Regions from separate parts of the Homo sapiens genome. Here region 1 is linked to region 2. Evidence: promoter capture Hi-C in human tissues and cell types (Jung and others, 2019). All regions are on one chromosome and are shown on one strand. The core of a region is centred on a gene start or on the middle of the fragment in contact, and the rest is flanking DNA. Distances in the headings are between cores, read along the strand shown.

Evidence for each region. The method cuts DNA at HindIII sites, captures the fragments that hold promoters and counts their contacts. A contact is called where the count stands out against the background at its distance.
Region 1: a contact is called between a fragment that was not itself captured here and the fragment with the promoter of BHLHE23 in region 2, in 1 of the 25 tissues and cell types used here (pancreas).

The regions. Positions count from the first base shown.
Region 1 is chr20:62,854,643-62,858,567 of GRCh38, reverse strand. It overlaps TCFL5 (transcription factor like 5), which reads left to right. Exons shown (of 6, transcript NM_006602.4): 4 at 930-1,173. Among named protein-coding and RNA genes, the nearest start is that of TCFL5, 5.2 kb to the left of the region's middle. The HindIII fragment of the contact is 4,926 bases long and covers 1-3,925 here.
Region 2 is chr20:63,004,662-63,008,628 of GRCh38, reverse strand. It overlaps BHLHE23 (basic helix-loop-helix family member e23), which reads left to right and starts at 1,665. Exons shown (of 1, transcript NM_080606.4): 1 at 1,665-2,702. The coding sequence starts at 1,855. The coding sequence ends at 2,580. RefSeq lists enhancers at 533-1,240, 1,241-1,946. The HindIII fragment of the contact is 18,098 bases long and covers 1-3,967 here.

The DNA of each region.
Region 1 (3,925 bases), core at 556-3,055, 150 kb after region 2:
GCTTTCCAAGAGTTGGTGAAGACAAGATGGGGAGGAAGAGCTACCGCCTTCTCCCATGTCAGTCCTTCCTTTTCCTCCCTATAAAATTTTATGCCAAAGTATATGTTCACATTTGTAAGATACAAAGATGAGTATTAAAGCAGCCTCTGTGCCGACTACTCAGGTTAAGGAATAAAATATCACCAAAACGACCGAATTCCTCTCTCTCCTGCTGAAAGCTTCATCATCCTTCTGAAATGGGTGCTTTGTGTGGCATACGCGTGCACATGAGCACGCCTGCCAGTCACGTGCCTGTGGTCCTTTGATGGATACAGTTCCACTGACGCACACGTGGCATAGCCTGTCACGCAGCAGAAAAGCTCGGACGCTACTTCTTCCTGCTTTGGGGAGGAGAGCCACTTCTGCGGCGAGGGCACACACACACGCTGCTGCAGTTTTGTTCTGAGCATTGCAGTAAAAATACTGTCATATTAGAATAATTGTTTTTTTTTCTTGTTCTTAGAATAATTGTATATAAAGAAAATATTTTTGGGAGGAAATATGTCCAGGTGGTTTGTTGTTGTTGTTTTTTTTTTTCCATTCTGACCTTTAGAAAAAGTAAACAACTTCTTGTTTTCTGTATTCATAGATAACACCTGTTAATTAAAAAGAGGGGCTTTGGATGAGGTCATATTGGTTGCATAGCACTTGGAAAACGTATTTAGTGTGATGATTGATTCTTGTTCAGTTTCGTTGTATAAAATAGGCTTGGGCTTCATGGTCCCTGCTGATGCTGAAAAACTGCATTAGTACATCTCTTTGTGTTTCGGTTCTCTGTGCTGCTTACCCAATAATGTTTATATCTTGGATTGAAAAGGCCAAAACTGTATTCAGCATTAATTGAGATAAGAATACAAAATTAAAAACCACTTTTTTCTTCTTTCGCAAAGAAGCAGCGCTATGCAAACAAGCACTGAAGAGGAATCGGAGTAGAATGCGTCAGTTGGACACAAATGTAGAGCGAAGAGCCCTTGGAGAGATTCAGAATGTGGGCGAAGGTGCCACCGCCACACAAGGCGCTTGGCAGTCCTCGGAGTCCTCACAGGCAAACCTGGGGGAGCAGGCCCAGAGTGGGCCCCAGGGAGGAAGGTCTCAACGTAGGGAGAGGCATAACCGAATGGAAAGAGATAGAAGGTAATACGTGTGACTGCTTGTCAGGCTGACTCATATATGATTACCTTAGTCATACATGGTTATCACAGATGAGTGATCCTTAGCCGTTTCTGCGTTCAGAGGGAATAAAGCAGGTAGGAGCATCGTTAGCTTTCCCAGATGGATCAAGGATCCCCCAGACTATGCCCAGGCTCGCTGGCTCACTAGGAGGACTCCCGGGACTCCGCATGCAGTCACTCTCAGGCTGTGACTTACTATGGAGAAAGGATGCCAGGTGCGATCAGCAAAGGCGCGTGGGGAGAAGGCAGGAGCTGAGGTGCAAGCTTCTAAGAGCGCGCCCTGTGGAGTCAGGCAGGTTGCCCCTCATGCCCCCAGCCATGTGGTCTGAAAACGTGGGTGAGGTGTTGCCAACCAGGAAAGCTCGCTAGAGACCAGGGGCGTGTCACGTAGGCACTGCCCCCATGCATGCAACCACAGTCCAGTCTCCCAGAAGGAAAGCAGTTGTTCAGTGTCAGCCATATCGTTTGCACAGTGTAGGTTCTGGGGGCACTCTTAACTCCCTGAATCTAGGTTTGCAGACTCCACTAAGGGCCAGCCCTGACTGCAGGCCTTTCTGAGGAGAGTGGTCAGGCTGTTTTGGTAACTGCTGCTTACCAGCCAGCTTGAGTTCAGCAAGTTTTGCCTGGTTCTTTTTTTTTTTTTTTTTTTTTGAGACGGAGTCTTGCTCTGTCGCCCAGGCTGGAGTGCAGTGGCGCGATCTCTGCTCACTGGAAGCTCCGCCTCCCGGGTTCATGCCGTTCTCCTGCCTCAGCCTCCTGAGTAGCTGGGACTACAGGCGCCTGCCACCACACCTGGCTAATTTTTTTGTATTTTTTAGTAGAGACGGGGTTTCAGCATGTTAGCCAGGATGGTCTTGATCTCCTGACCTCGTGATCTGCCCGCCTCGGCCTCCCAAAGTGCTGGGATTACAGGTGTGAGCCACCGCTCCTGGCTATTGCCTGGTTCTTTTAAGATTGCTGGGAAGGAAGAGGTTAAAATTGTTATTTAAGTGGTTTTGTCTGTAGATTTTATTTGTGGTATCCTTCTTTGTAGAATTAAGAGTGGTTAATTTTTTTCTATTATAATTGGGTTTTCTTTTCTTTTTCTTTTTTTTTTTTTTTTTTGAGACGGAGTCTTGCTTTGTCACCCAGGCTGGAATAGTGCAGTGGCATGATCTCGGCTCACTGCAACCTCCGCCTCCCAGGTTCAAGCGAGTCTTCTGCCTCAGCCTCCCCAGTAGCTGGGATTACAGGTACCCGCCACTACGCCCAGCTAATTCTTGTACCTTTTAGTAGAGATGAGGTTTCACCATATTGGCCAGGTTGGTCTCGAACTCCTGACCTTGTGATCCGCCTGCCTCGGCCTCCTAAAGTGCTGGGATTACAGGCATGAGCCACCACACCCGGCCTATAATTGGGTTTTCATAGAATATTTCCCTAATCTATAATTAATTAACTACATAATGTATCGAGTACTGGTACTGTGTACCAGTTTCTGCTTTAAGTTCAGGAAATAAATAACAGTGAGTGAGACAAATACTCAGGTTTGAAGCTCCAAGGTTGAATGTTGAGCTAAGGCAATTTATTTATTTATTTATTTTTTTATTTGGTGAGATGGAGATTTACTCTTGTTGCCCAGGCTGGAGTGCAATGGCACGATCTCGGTTCAACGCAACCTTCGCCTCCCAGGTTCAAGCGATTCTCCTGCCTCAGCCTCCTGAGTAGCTGGGATTACAGGCATGCGTCACCACGCCCAGCTAATTTTGTATTTTTAGTACAGGAGGGGTTTCTCCATGTTGGTCAGGCTGGTCTCGAACTCCTCACCTCAGGTGATCCACGTGCCTCGGCCTCCCAAAGTACTGGGATTACAGGCTTGAGCCACTGCGCCTGGCATGGCAATTTCTTTTAAAGGGATCTATTCAAACTTGCTGGGGCAGGGTGCAGTGGCTCATGACTGTGGGCCGAGGTGGGAGGATTGCTTGAGCCCAGGAGTTTGAAACCAGCCTGGGCAACATAGCAAGTCCCCGTCTCTAAAGAAAAACCAACAATACTAGTAGTGGTGGTGTTGCACACCTGTCGCCCCAGCTACTTGGGAGGCTGAGGTGTGGGAGGATCACTTGAGCCTGGGAGGTCAGCGCTGTAGTCAGCTGTGATCATGCCACTGCACTCCAGCCTGGGCCACAAAGTGAGACCCATCCCCCAAAGAAAGAAAATTAAAAAGCTAGCTAATATCTTTTTATGATACTTTTATACACATGGACTAACTGAGGGCCTTCCTCACCCTACTGTGAATTATGAAGGGCATTTTGCTCCGACATTTATTTAATAGACATTTATTGAGTACCTGCTATGTGGAAAGCCTTACACCGTACGTTGACAGTTTGAAAGTTGGACTTCTAGCTCTACTGCGTAGACTTGTGGTTAGAGTTCAGTGAGCTGATGTGTAAAGAGTGTTTCGCTCAATGTCTAGAAGTCCAAAAGCACCTAGTAAATGCCAGCTGCTGTTTTACTGGCAAAGTCTCTAATTAAAGTTCTAAATAGACGGGTGTGAAGGTGAGTAACAAGGGCCATATTGAATAAGTTGCTCAGTATCTGCTTGTTTAGGACTTTGCATGTTACTGAATGTAATATGTAAAAGTTTAAAAAATAGTCTAATAACAAGACTCCAATTGTTTATCTCTACAAAGACCAAGTTTCAGAATATTAACAGAGTGTTGGGCCGTGATCCTTTCTGA
Region 2 (3,967 bases), core at 416-2,915:
GCCTTTCTTCCCATAAAGACCAAACTCCCCGCGTGATTCAAACTGTCCCACAGGCCTGGTCCCGCCCCTCTATCTCCTGGCCCCACCCGGGCCCCTCACTGCCCTTCCCTGTGCCAGGCCTCCTCCGGCCACCTGAATGCTCCCCCGACCCCGGCCCGTGGCCACAATGACACCCACTCACCCTTCAGACCCAGGCCCAAACACAGCGGCCTCCTCCACACCAGGTATCCTCAATTCCCGGTCTGTGCATCAGCCCCGAAGGCGGGGTGGGGTCCCAGGACAGCGCCTCAGACAGACGCTTCCATCCTCGGGGCCCCTGCGCTCCTGGCGGGCGTGTGCTGGGGGTGAGGCCGGTGCTGCAGGACGCGCAGCCAGACAGGCCGCCAGCCCGGCAGAGGCTGCCTCAGACCCATTCCCCTCCGCCAGGACAAAGGCCTGAGTTTCCCACGGAGACTTATCCATGCATCTGTCTCCTCACACCCCGCACCTGGCAGGGAACCACCGGACAGGCCGGTCACTGCTGCGTTCCCAGAACCTTCCAGACAGCACATCCGCCCCACACACGTGCAGCTCCCACTCCCCTCCCGGGGCTGCGCACACTGCCCCATCGCTGTGGCTCCTCCTGGGGCGGAGCCTGGAGAACAGGGAGGGTATGCGGCCCTTCCCAGGTCACACAGAAGGGCCCGACGGGCCGCTCCACCTCGTGCCATAGGCCAGGGTGGCCCAGTCTCCCACCCAAGCCAGGACCGGAGAAGCCACTATCCCTCAGCACACTCTAGCCTCAGCACTCGGCCGGGCCTCCAGGCAGGTTCCCACCTGGGAGAAGGGCTGGGGTTCTGGCCTTCATGCGGGGTTGGAAGAGGACTGAAAAGGCGAGTCCGAGGCTGGCCACATTCCCATCCAGTGTGGCTGGACCCCAGGGGTTCGGAGGCTCCGGGAAAGCCCACCAAGCCTCACGCGTTTCGCTGATAGATGCCCAGGAAGCGGCTGGCAGGGAAGAGGCGGTCCTGCAGCTCACAGAGCTCCCCTCCCACCCCCGGGGAGCCCCAGGCCGCGCTGCCCTCCACCTTCCCGCCCTCCCCGGCCTGCAACGCTCGTGGCGTTTTTCAACAGGTTCTAGAAACTCCCTCTCACTCTGCCCCTCAAGCCTGGCCACAGGGCGCCCCGAGCAGGGAGTGTGCGGGCTCCGGGTACACGCTGCGCCGCGGCTGCACCAGAGCGCCCACGACCCTGACCCCGACCCGAAGCGGCCCCTCAGCGGGACAGGGTGTTGGCGCTGGCGCTGCTGCTATTGCGGCGCGCCCCCCCGCTCTGGCCCCTGCGTGTCGCCAGGGACTCTTGCGCTAGGGTCAGACTCAAAGACGGACCGAGGCGGGTGCCCACCTGGGACGCGTGCGTTTGGTGGCGGAATCCCCGGGGCGGCCGGAGGCGGCGGCCGGGGAGTCGAGAAGCAAGTACTAGCGCTCCAGGACCGCGCGCGCCGCCCCGCGCCGCCCCGCGCCGCCCCTCGGTCCAGAGCCCCCACCCCCGGCCTGTGAGCCTGCGGCGCTGGTGGAGCCCGGCTCCAGGAAGAGGAGCTCACCCGGTCCCCCCTGATTGGACAGCAGCGAGGTCCCACCGGGCGCCTCCGCGGCTTAAAACCGAAGCGGGGGCGAGGGGGAGGTAGAGCCCGCCCCCTGCGCGTCGCGGCTGGGAGGGAGAGGAGGTGGGAGAGAAGGAAGAGGCGGAGGAGGCAGCGGGCGCCGAGGCTCTGGGACCCGCAGGCAAGCCAGACCGACGCGCAGAGCCGGGAGCCTCATCGCAGCGGCAGCGGCAGCGGCGGGCTCGGGCCGGCCTCGGGGGCTGCTCACCCACATGAGCATCCGCCCACCCGGCGAGCCCCCGAGCCCAGGCGGCGCGGCCATGGCCGAGCTCAAGTCGCTGTCGGGGGACGCGTACCTGGCACTAAGCCACGGCTACGCGGCGGCGGCTGCGGGTCTCGCCTACGGGGCGGCGCGAGAACCCGAAGCGGCCCGCGGCTACGGCACTCCGGGCCCGGGCGGCGACCTCCCCGCGGCGCCTGCACCTCGCGCCCCAGCTCAGGCGGCGGAGAGCAGCGGCGAACAGAGCGGGGACGAGGACGACGCCTTCGAGCAGCGGCGGCGGCGGCGCGGGCCAGGGAGCGCGGCGGACGGGCGGCGGCGGCCGCGAGAGCAGCGGTCTCTGCGGCTCAGCATCAACGCGCGCGAGCGGCGGCGCATGCACGACCTAAACGACGCGCTGGACGGGCTGCGAGCCGTCATCCCCTACGCGCACAGCCCGTCGGTGCGCAAGCTCTCCAAGATCGCCACGCTGCTGCTCGCCAAGAACTATATCCTCATGCAGGCGCAGGCCCTGGACGAGATGCGGCGCCTGGTGGCCTTCCTCAACCAGGGCCAGGGCCTGGCCGCGCCCGTAAACGCCGCGCCCTTGACGCCCTTCGGCCAGGCCACTGTGTGCCCCTTCTCCGCAGGCGCCGCCCTGGGGCCCTGCCCTGACAAGTGCGCCGCCTTCTCCGGGACGCCCTCCGCGCTTTGCAAACACTGTCACGAGAAGCCGTGACCGCGCGGGCCCCCGGCCCTCCCGCACGCGTCCTCCGATCGCCCCTGTGACTGTCTCTCTGCCCGGACAGGAAAGGCCTGGAGGGACCCTGCAGACCAGGAGGAGGGGGCCCGACTTCGCTTCCAGCCTGTGCGCGGTGGACAGTTTAGCGCAGCGGGAAGCGCCAAGGCCGTCGGGGCGCGGGATTGAGCTCGAGAGCCGGACGCTGGACTCTGCGCCCGGGAACTCGCGGCACCCACTGGGTATTGTCGGGACCCAGCAAGTCTAGGAACGGGGGTGGGTAGAGCATCCTTCGGGCACTGCCGTTCGTCCCCAAAAGAAGACCACCGCGGGGTCCCAGGGCCACGGCGAGGACGGGCACTGGTCAGATTCCGGACAGGCGGTCCTGGCCCCGGGCGCACGAAAGGTGGAGACGAAGAAAAGCCGGACTTACTGGCTCCTGATCCTCTTGCAGTGGGCCTCGCGCTCCCGCTCCAGCCGGCCCTTCGTGCTAAACTGCAGGGCAGTGCTCTGTTCCTGAGGACGCGCGTGGCCGGCACCTCCCACCTCGGTGACTCCGAGACTCCGCAGCCCTGCGGAGAGCCCACGATGGCCGTCTGCAGAGGAGCTGGACCGCGGGCGCAGGAAGACCCCGGGGAAGGCCTTTTCCAAGTAGGAGTTTGTTCTATTTATTTGGGAATTGGACGCCGTCGCCGGCTGCCTCGAAGTCTGAGGAATTTGTCCCCTAAATGTCCCCTGGCCTCCCCCCCCCGCCGCCATCCGCTGCCTGGGACGTCCGCGGGGTGGAGTTGGATGGAGACCGCTTTGCGGGCCCTCTGCCTCGGGGGGCTGCGTGGAGGAGGGTCCTCACAGCCCGCGCCCTACTTAACCCTGACGGTCAGGGGAGGGCCCCGTCTAGCCCTGGTGTCCAGCAAACCCCCTCCCCACCGATCCCCTCTCCCTTCCGAGGGAGGAGGCCGGGCTACGGGTGAGTAAGCTGCTGCGGGCCCCGTGCCCCGCCGGGTGTGAACGGAGATGCGCTGCGCAGTGCCCGTCCTGCGCAGCTCCCAGCTCTGCCACCATCCGGGATCCAGGGAGCCGGGCAGGGTGCCCCCGGGGACCCATCTGTCCGCGCCGGTTTGCGCCCCGCGGCCCCGCCGCAGTATCCGGCTTTATTAACCCAATTTCCTCGGCTGTCGGTAATGCCAAGGGGAGAGGGCCGCCGCCCTGCAACGCGCCTGTCTACAGCGTTTAACTCTGATTAATACATTCCACAGGGCCTTCTGTACTTGCAAAATCAAGTGTATGGTTAAGTCTTATTCATAAAGACATATGCCTAATACTGGTTTCTGCTAATTTCCACTTTTATTTCTTCATTGTCTTTTTTTTTTCCCCTAACAGACTAGTT